Regions from separate parts of the Homo sapiens genome. Here region 2 is linked to region 1. The links are contacts of gene promoters, found by promoter capture Hi-C in blood cells and fetal thymus (Javierre and others, 2016). All regions are on one chromosome and are shown on one strand. The core of a region is centred on a gene start or on the middle of the fragment in contact, and the rest is flanking DNA. Distances in the headings are between cores, read along the strand shown.

Region 1 (7,276 bases), core at 3,324-5,823:
CAATAAAACAACACTCTGAATGTGGGGAGTCATATGGCAGTGGGCTTAACCAGGAGCCGGCATATCTGGCCACTTTCCAATGCTTCAAAGGAGTGTCTTTCTCCTTAAGCACAGTGTTTATAAATAAGAGAGCAGGTCACGCTCTGGTCATGAGAACGTGATGGTAATAAGGAGGCTTTCCTCCTCAGAGGCCTCCTGTGATTTTCCAAAACTTATTGTCCCATATTTTTATGGCCAGTTTATGCCAGCACCCCATAAGCCTTTTTCCCAACAATCGTGAGACACACAGAGAAGAAACACACAGGTAAAAGAGAAGGCCATGTGAAGATGGAGGCAGAGACTGGAGTGATGCTGCCACAAGCCAAGGACACCTGAGAGTCTGTTAGAAAAGGGGAGACAGGTGAATGAATGTGGGCAGCTGTGCCGGAGCCCCTCAAGACCACTCCCAGATGCAGTGATTCACTAGGTGAACTCACAACACTCAGTCTATAATTATATTCATGGCAACCACTTATTACTGTGAAAACATACACAGCAAAACCAGCAAAGGTAAAAGGTACATGTGGCAAAGTCTGGAGGAAACCAGACATAAGTTTCAAGTTCAGTCTCTTTGGAGTCACACAGGATACACTTAATTCCCCGAGCCACAAGTCATGACAACACACGTGAAATGCTATAGACCAAGGAAGTTTATTAGAGAGAGATTGTGTGCCATGGTTTTTATTGGGGGCTGATCGTGAAGGTGCTCACTGCCTAACATTCACCAAAACTCCAGAATCCTAGAGGAAAGCATGTGTTCAGGATAAATCACATTGTTTGAAAAAAACAGCTTAGGCACAGTGAGCCACTCTTATTAGGAAATAGTGGGACTGCCTCCAAAAATCTAAGCTCCCAAATGCCAGCTGCTATGGTTTGAATGTTTGTGTCCTCCAAAATTCATGTTGAAACTTAATCTCCAATGCAATGGTATCAAGAGGTGGGCTTTTAGTAAGTGATTAGGTCATGAGGGCTCCTCCCTTGTGAGTGGCATTAAGGCCCTTATAAAAGAGGCTTTGGCCAGGCACAGTGGCTCATGCATGTAATCCCAGCACTTTGGGAGGCTGAGGTGGGAGGATCGCTTGAGGCCAGGAGTTTGAGGCTGCAGTGAGTTGTGATTGCACCACTGCACTCTAGCCTGGGCAACAGAGCAAGACCCTGTCTCTTAAAAATAAAAAAATAAAAAAAAATAAAGGCCGAGCGTGTTGGCTCACACCTGTAATCCCAGTACTTTGGGAGGCCAAGGTGGGCAGATCACTTGAGCTCAGGACTTGGCAACATGGTGAAACCCCATCTCTATAAAACATACAAAAATTATTCAAGCATGGTGGCACATGCCTGTATTCCCAGCTACTCAGATGGCTGCGGCAGGAGGACTGCTTGAGCCTGGGAGGTTGAGAGGTTGAGACTGCAGTGAGTTAGGATGGTGCCACTGCACTGCAGGCTGGGTGACAAAGTGAGACTCTGTATCAAAAAAAAAAAAAAAAAAAAACCTAAAGAAAGAAGAAATAATAATAAAAATAAAAGAGGCTTCACACACAGATCGGCCCTTTCTGCTCTTCTGCCTTCTGCCATGTGAGGGCACCGCATTCTTCACCTCCAAAGAAATAGCGACAAAACACCATATTGAAAGCAGAAATCAGGCCCTCACCAGACACCAAACCTGCTGGTGCTTCGATCTTAGACTTCTCAGTCTCCAGAACTATAACAAATAAATTTCTGTTGTTTATAAATTATCCAGTCTCAGCTATCTTGTTATAGCAGCACCAACAAGGCTAAGACAGCATCCTATAATTTAATTCAGTCTGAGACTGTGTATCTAGATATAGTGTCAGACACCACAGATTAAGGGCTCAGTTCAAGCCTGCCCCCAACTTCAGACGCAAGTTGCAAGCAGCAGGTTGTCACCTGTACCTCTGATGGACCAGCTATAAATCAGGATTCACACGGCCTCCTCCTCAGGTTCGATTAATTTGCTGGATGGCTCACAGAACTCAGGAAAGCACTTAACATTTACTGGTTTATTTCAACTCTTTTCCTGTCTAGAAAAACGAAGTGCAGCTCACTGCCAGCGCTTATTTCATTTTACATAAACATGCTCTTTGAGGCTGCAGTAAATCTGATTTTCAATGTGAAAATAAAATATAAAAGCTGTTCTAGGAGTTATTTCTAAACAGAACTAACATCAGAATCATCTGAATCATCAGAATTCTCGATTTGGAATCATCAGAATTCTCGATTTGGTAAAAATCGGATCCATCCAGTGAGTCTTCAGCCAAGAACTGTTTGAGAATGATGTTAACATCACATGTAGGAATGCTACGTTTTCTAGGATTTGACATTTTCAGTGATCGAGAACTACTACATTTTGTAAATGGAAATACCACTACTAAAAACAGAATGCTATAAGTAGAATGATGTCTTTTGTTTCCCAAGGCGACCTACTAGAGCGATGTGAAAATAATAAAAGTGAGATCGTTCATGGCAAAGTTATCTCGGGGTAAATGCTCCAGCTGCAAGCACCAAAGGTGAGTATTCTCAGGGCAAATGGGAAAAGGAATAAAGGATATTACGAAGGATACAGATGAAGAGGCAGATGGAAGGGATAGCACAGAGCAAGGTTTGTAGCAAGGGGCGTGGGACTTCCATGCCCTCCACGGAAGCTTATTAGAGACTCAGTTCACCACCCTCAGGCACCTCCACATGCTCAAGAATCTGTAAGTTCCCCAGAAGTTCACCAGTCCTTTTGAGTTTTTACGCTGGTTTCATTATGTGGGCATACTTGATTAAAACACTAACCACTGGTGATCAACTCAACCTTCAACTTCCCTGTTGCCAGGCAGAGCTAAAATTTCCAACCCTCAAATGACATGGTTAGTTGCCCTGGCAACCAGCCTCCCCCGTCCTAAGGCCAGCCAGAAGCCCCCAGTCACCAGCCATCTCAATGCCACACAAAAAGGCACTGTTTACTGAAGAGGTTCCAAGGCTTTTGGGAGACATGTGCCAGGAAACAGGACAAAGATCGATTATACATTTCTTATAAATCGTAACAATCATAGCTAGGCGCGATGGCTCATGCCTATAATCCCAGCACTTTGGAAGGCCGAGGCGGGCAGATCACCTGAGGTCAGGAGTTCAAGACCAGCCTGGCCAACGTGGTGAAAGCCTGTCTCTACTAAAAATACAAAAATTAGCCGGGCGTGGTGGCGGGCGCCTGTAATCCCAGCCACTCGGGAGGCTGAGGCAGGACAGTCGCTAGAACCCAGGAGGCGGAGGTTGCAGTGAGCTGAGATCGCACCACTGCACTCCAGACTGGACAACAGAGCTAGATTCCGTCTGGGGGATAGGAGGAAACTTTGATCCCCAAATGCTCAAGGAGACTGATGCTTAAGCAAACTAAATATTGCCTGAGAACGACTCCATACTTCTATATTTGAGTCCTTGTGGATAAACTGCAACCTAGCTTAACAGACAAAATTGAAAACCGAACTTAATCGTATGCACCTGTAACAATAGCTGAGTGGTGGCCAGTCCCAGCGGCCATACTCATAGACTGCTGAATGTTCCAACTGCGTTCAAATAAGGCAAACGCCGAATGGTAACCAATCTCACTGTTTCTGGACCTCGCTTCCGATTCCTGTATGTCACTTTACCTTTTTTGTCTATAAATTTGTTCTGACCACGAGGCACCCCTGGAGTCTCTGTTAATCTGCTGTGATTCTGGGGGCTGCCCAATTCGCGAATCGTTCATTGCTCAAGGAAACTCCTGTAAATTTAATTCGGCTTCAATTTTTCTTTTATCACTGATTTGAGTAATAATAAAACTCCGGTCTCCCCGCACAGCCGGCTCTGCATGAATTGCTCTTTCTCCATTGCAATTTCCCTGTCTTAACAAGTCGGCTCTGTCTAGGCAGCCGGCAAGGGTGGGCGGTTATAGTTTCACAACTCAACCCCAGCCAGGGGCCTGGGCTTGTAAAATACCAGATTTTACAAGCCTCTGAGCCCCACATGCCTGGGCCTCCCCGAAACACTTAACACACATCCCCGATTCACCCCAAAACCTACACCACACACCCTCGTACGCTGCCCAGCACCCCGGCTTCATCACCGACTTTAAACTGCAGCATTTGGAGTGATAATAATGGCGTCGGTGATAAAGCCGGCGTGCTGGGCAGCGTCCCCCTAGAGTTCTCCATCCAGTGATCCAGAGGCCTACTAACAGAGTGACCCTCAGAGACCCCAAACTCTGACGCCGAGTCTCAGTCGCTGAACTCGACAGACCTTTAACGCCCGACCACAAGAACTCTCCCACGCCGGACCGCAAAGGCACCCCAACCCAAAGGCTCCACCGCCCAGGCCGCCAGCTCTCCCCACAGGCTCCTCAGAAGCTCCCTACCCCTTTAACCTACTCCACGGAGAGACCCAAACACTCACCTGATTTTCTTCTGGCTACACCTAAATTCCCTGAATGCTTCCTTTCCTGGCCCTTAAACCCCGGCACTGGCCTATGGCGGCGGACGAGGGCGCGAGTCAATTCTGCCGCGCTAGGACGATGGGACATGGGCTTCTCTTCGAGGAGGTAACATGTCCGCGCCCTGAGCCACGGCTCTCTGGGCGCGGCCATCTTGGTAGATCTGCCGTACAGAAGGGAAACAGTTGTTCTTGTGTCATTAAACCGGGATGACTCTCCTGAAAGCAAAAATTTGAGGCGCAGGAGCATTTTCTAGAGTTTATCTGAACAAACAGCAATTCATGAATTAGGAAGCATCAAACCAAAAGAAGTCTCGCGCTTCTATGCTTAAAGCATTAGACACAAGTATTCACAGGGTGAGTGAAGGAGTAAAACAAAGAAATTATTTGATTAGTTACAATTATAAAAATGCATTTTTTTAAATTTGCCTTGGAAAGTCCCTAATGACATAATAGCATGTGAGTTGCCTACTTTTGATCGGTTGAGATTGAGTTTTGTCCTTCCCTAACACAAGCATTTACCAGAAATGACTCAAGTGAATTGTTGCTTATGTTTGCAGGTTAAGCAAGGTTAAGGCTGTTTTTAAGGCCTACTGGGTTTTGTTTGCTCAGGAGTTTTTGAATTCTGGTCTGCATTTTAATTTTGCTTTGACACAGGAGACAGTGAAATGGCACTGATGTGTTCCCTCTCCTGACACCTCAACCCCTGCACTGTGAGGTTGGAGCACTAACAACAGTGCACTGTGGGGAAAAGAAAGAGAGATCAGACTGTTACTGTGTCTATGTAGAAAGAAGTAGACATAAGAGACTCCATTTTGTTCCGTACTAAGAAAAATTCTTCTGCCTTGAGATGCTGTTAATCTGTAACCCTACCCCCAACCCTGTTCTCACAGAGACGTGTGCTGTGTTGACTCAAGGTTTAATGGATTTAGGGCTATGCAGGATGTGCTTTGTTAAACAAATGCTTGAAGGCAGTATGCTTGTTAAAAGTCATCACCACTCTCTAATCTCAAGTACCCAGGGACACAATACACTGCGGAAGGCCACAGGGACCTCTGCCCCAGAAAGCCAGGTATTATCCAAGGTTTCTCCCCATGTGATAGTCTGAAATATGGCCTCGTGGGAAGGGAAAGACCTGACCATCCCTCAGCCCGACACCCGTAAAGGGTCTGTGCTGAGGAGGATTAGTATAAGAGGAAGGAAGGCCTCTTGCAGTTGAGACAAGAGGAAGGCATCTGTCTCCTGCTCGTCCCTGGGCAATGGAATGTCTCGGTATAAAACCCGATTGTATGTTCCATCTACTGAGATAGGAGAAAATCGCCTTAGGGCTGGAGGTGAGACAAGCTGGCGGCAATACTGCTCTTTAATGCACCGAGACGTTTATGTATGTGCATATCAAAGCACAGCACCTTCTTCTTAAGCTTGTTTATGACACAGAGACATTTGTTCACATGTTTTCCTGCTGACACTCTCCCCACTATTATCCTATTGTCCTGCCACATCCCCCTCTCCGAGATGGTAGAGATAATGATCAATAAATACTGAGGGACTCAGAGACCGGTGCCGGCGCGGGTCCTCTGTATGCTGAGCACCGGTCCCCTGGACCCACTTTTCTTTCTCTATACTTTGTCTCTGTATCTCTTCTTTTCTCAGTCTCTCGTCCCACCTGACGAGAAACACCCACAGATGTGGAGAGGCAGGCCACCCCTTCACTGCACAAACCACACAGATATTCAGAGGCTCAAATGCAACCAAGGCTGTTGCGGGAAGTCAGGGACCCCAAACGGAGGGACCGGCTGAAGCCATGGCAGAAAAACATGGATTGTGAAGATTTTATGGACATTTATTAGTTCCCCAAATTAATACTTTTGTAATTTCTTATGCCTGTCTTTACTGCAATCTGTAAACATAAATCGTAAAGATTTCATGGACACTTATCACTTCCCCAATCAATATCCTTGTGATTTCCTATGCCTGTCTTTGCTTTAATCTCTTAATCCTGTCAGCCGAGAAGGATGTATATCGTCTCAGGACCCTGTAATAATTGTGTTAACTACACAAATTGTACAGCATGTGTGTTTGAGCAATATGAAATGTGGGCACCCTGAAAAAAGAACAGGATAACAGCAATTGTTCAGGGAATAAGAGAGAGAACCTTTAACTCTGACCGCCGGTGAGCCGGGCGGAACAGAGCCATATTTGTCTTCTTTCAAAAGCAAATGGGAGAAATATCACTGAATTCCTTTTCTCAGCATGGAACGTCCCTGAGAAACAGAATGCGCACCTAGGGGTAGGTCTCTGAACTGGCCTCCCCCGGGCGTACCTGTCTCTTATGGTCGAGATTGCAGAGGTGAAATAAACTCCAGTCTCCCATAGCGCTCCCAGGCTTGTTAGGAAGAGGAAATTCCCGCCTAATAAACTTTGGTCAGACCGGTTGATCTCAAAACCCTGTCTCCTGATAAGATGTTATCAATGACAATGGTGCCCAAAACTTCATTAGCAATTTTAATTTCACTTCGGTCCTGTGGTCCTGTGATCTCGCCCTGCCTCCACTTGCCTTGTGATATTCTATTACCCTGTTAAGTACTTGATGTCTGTCACCCACACCTATTCGTATCCTCCCTCCCCTTTTGAAACTCCCTAATAAAAACTTGCTGGTTTTTGTGGCTTGTGGGGCATCACAGATCCTACCAATGTGTGATGTCTCCCCCGGAGGCCCAGCTTTAAAATTTCTCTCTTTTGTACTCTGTCCTTTTATTTCTCAAGCCAG
Region 2 (7,276 bases), core at 4,777-7,276, about 15 Mb before region 1:
TTTTTTTTTTTTGAGACTGAGTCTTGCTCTGTCGCCCCGGCTGGAATGCAGTAGCGTGATCTCGGCTCACTGCAAGCTCTACCTCCTGGGTTCAAGCAGTTCTCCTGCCTCAGCATCCCAAGTAGCTGGGATTACAGGCACATGCCACCACGCCTGGTGTGCCACCATGCCTGACTAACTGTTTTGTATTTTTAATAGAGACAGGGTTTCACCATGTGGGCCAGGCTGGTTTCGAACTCCTGACCTCAAGTGAGCCGCCCACCTTGGCCTCCCAAAGTGCTGGGATTACAGACTTGAGCCACTGCACCCAGCCCATTTAGTTTTTTATTAATGATTTGAGAAAGATCTTATATTTTACCTGCTAGTTCTTTGACAGTTAAATGTTTTGTAAATATCATCACCCATTCTGTGGCTTGCGTCTTTTTAACAGATTTTATTCATAAGTGAGCTGTGAATCACGCTTATATTTTTACGCAACTTTGTTTTCCATTTAATTACTATTACCTTTTTGTCCATATATTTATCACTAATTTATATTCAAAATCTACTGGAAAATAAATCTTTTTCCAGTATGTTCTGTCAGTTTCTTGGGTTTAGAGACATCTCTTCTATGATCCTTTTTTTCTCTACTGACTGCTTGTACCACTATTACTCTAGAATTCTATCTTTTTAAATTCACTGCCCTTCTGCGTTGAGTTCTTTGTTTCTTGGATTCCTTGCCTTCCTGTTTCTTGGTTTGGTTCTTCTTGATATTGGTGGCATGTGAGAAAGGATGAATGAGAATTAAATTTTGTGAGTTCTGGTATATTTTTCAACCACTATATTGATTCTTTGGCAGGGCATGGAATTCTACATTAAAAATATTTTTCCTCAGAATTTTAAAATTATGATCTCTGTCTTATAGTATTGTTTAGAACTCCAAAGCCATTTTCATTCCTGGTCTTTGGTTTATACCCTGTCTTTGCATATTGGAGCCTTTTAGGGTATTTTCTTTGTTCCCAGTGTCCTAGAACCTAATAAAAATATATGTAAATGTAAATCATCTTTTTTTTATACTACATACCAAGTGGACCCATTAAATATGGAGACTCATTTCTTTCAGGTCTGGGAAGTTGCCCTTAATGCTACTTTTTAGAACAATCTGTATTTTCTGTTTTCTTTGAAAAATTTCAAACATAGAGAAAAAAAGATTATTCCAGTGAATTCTGAATACCCATTTTCTTCCTCTGTTTGGGCCACTGTAACAAAGTACCATAAACTAGTTATCTTATAAACAAAAGAAACTTATTTCTCACAGTTGTGGAGGCTGGAAAGTACATGATCAAGATGTTGGCAGATTCAGTGTCTGGTAAGGACCTGCTTTCTGCTTCATAGTTGGCACCTTCTCTCTTTGTCCTCACATAGTAAAAAGGGAAAGGCAGTCCTCTGGGTACTCTTTTTTAAGGACATTAATTACATTCATGAGGGCTCTGCCCTCATGACCTAATCACCTCCCAAAGGCCCCACCTCCTTACCCCATTACATTGATAACTAAAGTTCAACATTTCATTTGGGGGTTGGGAGGACACAAACATTCAGACTCTATCATCCATCACCCAAATTCTTCAGTTGTTGCCATTTTGCCACATTTCCTTTATCTTTATTAATACACACACATACACTTTTTTTTGTGAGTCATTTGAAAATATGTTGGGGACATCTTCACATTTTACCATTAATAATTTTAACATATATCTCCTTAGTATTAATGATATATCTCCAACCTAAGGAAATTAAAATAGACTTAATAATATTCTTAAGCATTTTATATTTAGACAGCTCCAGTAGTCTTCAAGCTCTCTTTATTTAGCTGCTATTGTGTTTGTTTGTTTGTTTTACTTGGGTATGTGTTTGCCTGATCTAGGATCCAGTCAAGATTTATATATTGATTTGGTCATTGGATCTCTTTAGTCTCTTTTAATCTGGAGCAGTCTCTCATTTTTTGTTTTATATGACTTTGAATTTTTTTGGTTTTTTTGAGATGGAGTTTCACTCTTGTTGCCCAGGCTGGAGTGCAATGGTACGATCTTGTCTTACCACAACCTCCGCCTCCTGGGTACAAGCGATTCTCCTGCCTCAGCCTCCCTAGTAGCTGGGATTACAGGCATGTGCCACTGCACCCGGCTAATTTTGTATTTTTAGTAGAGACGGGGTTTCTCCATGTTGGTCAGGCTGGTCTCAAATTCCCGACCTCAGGTGATCTGCCCAACTTGGCCTCCCAAAGTGCTGGGATTACAGGCATGAGTCACCATGCCCGGCCCTGTTTTATATGACATTGAATTTTTTTGAGAATCCAGGACAATTATTTTATAGAATGTCACATAACCTTTATTTGTCTCATGGCTTTCTCATGTATAGGAAGCTTAGATTCAGGTTAAATATATTTGGCAAGCATACCACATAGGTGGTATGATGGTACATCTTTTATTGTATTACATTGGGAGGAACATATTGTCAGGTTGCTCTACTACTGTTGATGCCAAGTGCTGTATGGATGTTTGTCCCCTCCGAATCTTATGTTGAAATTTTCCCCCCATTGTTGGAGGTGGGGCCTAATGGCAGGTGTTTCAGTTATGGGGATGGATCCCTGATGAACAGATTAATGCCCTCCCTGGGGGGCAGTGGGTGAGTGAGTTCTTGCTCTTATTACTTCCCAAAAGAGCTGGTTGTTAAAAAGAACCTAGCACCTCTCTCGACCCTCTCTTTTGCTTCCTCTCTCTCCACATAATCTCTGCACATCCCAGCTCCTCTTCACCTTCTGCTAGTGGAAGCAGCCTGAAACCTTCATCAGAAGAAGCTGTTGGTGCCATGCATCTTGTACAGCCTGCAGAACTGTGAGCCAAATAAACCTCTTTTCTTTATAAGTTACCCACTCTTAGATATGTCTTCATAGCAACACAAGTAGACTAAGGCATCAAGTTTTACCACTTAAGATTAAGGTGGTGAGTACCAAATCTTTCTATTAAACAGGTATATATTTTTCCCTTTATAATTAATAAATAATCTGTAGAGTGATACTGTGAGATCAAGTGAATATCCTTTTCCGCAGCACAATTCATTATCCAGCTTTAGAATCCATTGAGGATCCTGAATCTTTTATCCTATTGACGATTTTTAAATGGTGATTTTCAGGTTCCTCCGTTTCTTCTAGCACACTTTGTAGATTCTTAGCAAACTTCTAAAAATGATTTCTTCTCAGTAGACGTTGGACTTTGTTGCTTGATCTCCCATATTTTCCTATTTTCCATTTCTGTATCTTTTTTGTATGGGTTTTAAAGATATTTTATTATTTACTTTTGAATGATTTGTTTTTATTCCAACTTTATATTTTCATTTTCTATGAATACTTTTTTCACTTAATATTTCTTTCATATTATTCTATTCTTGTATCATGTGGAGTAGCTTCTCATATCCTTATGAGAATATACGTTGTGACTTTTGAGGTTTTCTTTGTTCTCCTATATAGTCTGTCTTCTGAGTTGCTTTGGTTGCTTTGTTTACTGTCTTTTATCTTACAGGCTTTTCTCAAATATCTAATATTTGCCTATTTTTTGTTTCTGTTGTTTTTGTATATATTTAAGATATACAACATGAGGTTTTGATACATATTATGAAATGGTGACTGTAGTCAAGCAAATTAACATGTTCATCATCTCACATAGTTACACTTTTTGTGTGTGTGTGGCAAGAGCACCTAAAAATCTACTCTCATCAAAAATCTCAAATACAATACAATGTCATTAACTATAGTCCTCATGTTGTACATTGGATCTCTAGACTTATTCATTCTACATGTCTGAAACTTTGTATCCTTTGACCTGCATCTCCCCATTTTCTCCCTGACAGTCCCTGGTAACTACCATTCTGTATGCTATTTCTGTACTTTTTTTTTTTTTTTACATTCTACATATAAGTGAGATCATGCAGTATTTCTCTTCGTCTCCCTTATTTCACGTAGCATAACGTCCTCCAGTTTCATGTCTGTTTTGTCAAATGGCAGGATCTCTTTCTTTTCAATGGTGAATAATATTCATTTATATATATCACAATTTCTTCATCTGTTCATCCATCAGTGGGCACATAGGTTATTTTCATGTCTTGGCTATTGTGAATAATACTGCTTTGAACATGTGAGTGCACATATCTTCATGAGGTAGTGATCTATTTGTAATTTAGAGTGGGCCCTAAGAAGCTGTATGCTATATATTTTGTATGTTGATTGTTAGACTTTTATGGGTACTTAGTTCCCTCCACTTCTTAAGTTTTTCTGGGGTTCTGCAGCATAAACCGTACACTTTTTTATACACAAAAAGTGTAACTATGTGTGGGCTTTCCTTACTTTTAGTTAAGATTATATCTTTTTTGATTGGTCATTGTTTATCTTACACTTTCAACTTAAAATGTTGGCTGGGCATGGTGGCTCATGCCTGTTATCCCAGCACTTTGGGAGGCCAAGGCAGGTGGATCACTTGAGGTCAAGAGTTCGAGACCAGCCTGGCCAATATGGTGAAACCCCACCTCTACTGAAAATACAAAAATCAGCCAGGTGTGGTGGTGGGCACCTGCAATCCCAGCTGTTTGGGAGGCTGAGGCAGGAGGACCACTTGAACCTGGGAGGCAGAGGTTGCAGTGAGCTGAGATTGTGCCATTGCACTCCAGTCTGGGTGACACGAGTGAAACTCCACTAAAAAAAAAAAAAGGGGGGTGGGGTGCCAGGCCTGGTGACTCATGCCTGTAATCCTAGCACTTTGGGAGGCTGAGGTCGGGAGTTCAAGACCAGCCTGACCAACATAGAGAAACCCTGTATTACTAAAAATACAAAATTAGCCAGGCGTGGTGGCACATGCCTGTAATCCCAGGTACTGAGGAGGCTGAGGCAGGAGAATCACTTGAACCCGGGAGGCGGAGGTTGCAGCGATCTGAGATCATGCCATTGCACTCCAGCTTAGGCAACAAGAGCGAAACTCCATCTCAAAATAAATAAATAAATAAGCTGAAAATGTTTTGTTGCTGCAGCTTCCTCTTTAATTTCCTTTTATGTGGTGGTTTTGTTCTGTTTTACAAATTCCTTTTCATTCCTTTTAGTGAGGTTTTGGAAAGCGTACGGGGATAAATGCACGTGATCCACTTGAGCTTTTTCAGAGAAATTATGTTGTATGGCTAGAGAAATCTAGTTTTTAGATGTTTATTTGTAAGGATAATACATTTTGCAAATAATTTATTATATTATTCAATAAATGCATTTAGGTTTTTTTTGCATGTACCAGAGTTCAAGTTGATTAAATTAATAGATATTATCTTTGTCTTCATGAAGCTTGGCTCTATTGTAGCAGACAGAGGTTAAACAAGCATTCAAACAAATATGAAAAATTTAACTGTAGGGAATGGATACGTAAATTACCTATTATCAAAACAAAACACAAAGAAAAGAGGAAAAAAGAGCTCTGAGAAATGATAGTAGAGTGTGCATAATTCAGACTGAACATGTAGGAAATATTTTAAAGATACATCATTTAGCAGAGACCTAAACCACTGCCAGAAACTTGCAAGGCCAAGAGTAGGGGCAGTGGATATAGGGGGACATTTCAGGCAGATGAAACCATGATGGGGATGGGTCGGTACAGTTTTGTGCATTTGAAGAACTATGAAGACTACATAGTAGCTACAGCTTATTGTTGGGTGGGGGGTGCAGGGAGGGATATTAGGTTGAAGAGACAGGCAGATCACTGAGGAACTTTTAAGAGCGAGTTCATTTTGAGCAGAACAGTTCCAGGCTAAATATCACTCTGGGTGCTAAGGGTGCAAAACTGGAAATGCAGGCAGGTAGAAGAAATGCTGGTTTAGTGTCCAAGCAAAAGATAATTTTGATTTGGATTAGCCAGTTGGAGACTGAAAGAACAATTTCAAGACATATTTAGACCTGCTCTAAACAGGATTGTTATGTAAGTTGTAGAAAGAGATTGGTGCCGAATGTTTTCACTTTTTGGGATTTGAGGTATTCACTCAGGGCCTTAGATAGTATCTTTAAATCCATTCCCTTTCCTAGCCTCTACTTTTGAGGCAAATAAGTCTCCCAAAATAATAAGCACTGCATAGTTACTTTATGCAAGTATGTAAGTAGATTTGGTGTGATCAGAATCATTCCATAATCATCAAAGATGAGGTTCAGGATATTTATATATCTTCATCTTTCTTGCAGTCTTCTAGTAGTATCACATTGCCTCCTGTCTTGTCTTCCCTTTCCTCTTATGTTAAAACCAGATTCTGTTCCTCTGCTGTAGCCCTTACTGAGCTCCATCTTCTCTCAATGTTATCATCATAGAATTTGGAGGCAAACTTATTTCTTAAATGGCATAAACAAACCACATTCTAACCACAGATGAATCTTCCCTCTCCATAGCTCATTCCATACTCATTTAGCACATTAGTCTTTCATTGGGAAACTGCTCTTTGTGGATTATCTTTCTTTTCTGTCTCCATCAGTTTATATGCAAATTATGTTTATTACTGAAACATCCCAGATTTCCCACCCCAGGAAAAATGTAGTACTCCCAACAACCCTGATAAATGAATATGAGAATTACTCTCATTTATAAATGTTTATAGCACTAGATTCATCTCTTAAAAAATTAAGACAGGGCCAGGACATCTGTATAATTACCAAGCTTTCAAAGTCTGCAGGACTTTTAAACTAAACTAAACTACTATTTAAAACTACTATTTTAAATAAATATCTAAACTACTATTTAAAAATAATCTGTTTCCTGAAAACCTCCTCCACTTTCTAGTCTGACTTTTACTCATTTTCTCTGCTTCCCTAATCTGTTTTTCAAATTGCCCAGTCATATGTGAGAACTGTATAAACCACTCAATTTTTATGAAAATTAAATTGTAGTTAAGTCTTTCGTATCTATTATAAACGTTTAATCTCTCCCAGAACACAAAAAAGTGAATGTTTGCTTTTATATTTTCTTTCAGACTATGAATCAAAGTTGAGACCAAGAAATTATTTCTGAAAAAGGATATGGAAAACCTTACAAAACACAGCATTGAGTGTTCAAGTTTCAGAGGTGATTGGGAATGTAAAAACCAGTTTGAGAGAAAACAGGGATCTCAGGAAGGACATTTCAGTGAAATGATATTTACTCCTGAAGACATGCCCACTTTCAGTATCCAGCATCAGAGAATTCATACTGATGAGAAACTCCTTGAATGTAAGGAATGTGGGAAGGATTTT

What was found. Contacts are between HindIII fragments. The CHiCAGO score rates a contact against its expected background, and 5 or more counts as called.
Region 2: a fragment that was not itself captured here is called in contact with the fragment with the promoter of ZNF649 in region 1 in 1 of 17 cell types (non-activated CD4 T cells); the score reaches 8.1 in non-activated CD4 T cells.

Annotation. Positions count from the first base shown.
Region 1 is chr19:51,900,444-51,907,719 of GRCh38, forward strand. ZNF649 (zinc finger protein 649) reads right to left here and starts at 4,574. Exons shown (of 5, transcript NM_023074.4): 1 at 4,471-4,574. It overlaps ZNF649-AS1 (ZNF649 antisense RNA 1), which reads left to right. Exons shown (of 3, transcript NR_110733.1): 3 at 1-21. RefSeq lists a silencer at 1,110-1,356 and enhancers at 2,707-3,252, 4,343-4,887, 4,606-4,725, 5,216-5,840, 6,724-7,276. The HindIII fragment of the contact is 3,228 bases long and covers 2,698-5,925 here.
Region 2 is chr19:36,869,768-36,877,043 of GRCh38, forward strand. It overlaps ZNF345 (zinc finger protein 345), which reads left to right. Exons shown (of 3, transcript NM_001242472.2): 3 at 7,018-7,276. The coding sequence starts at 7,064. Among named protein-coding and RNA genes, the nearest start is that of ZNF345, 23 kb to the left of the region's middle. The HindIII fragment of the contact is 1,351 bases long and covers 5,352-6,702 here.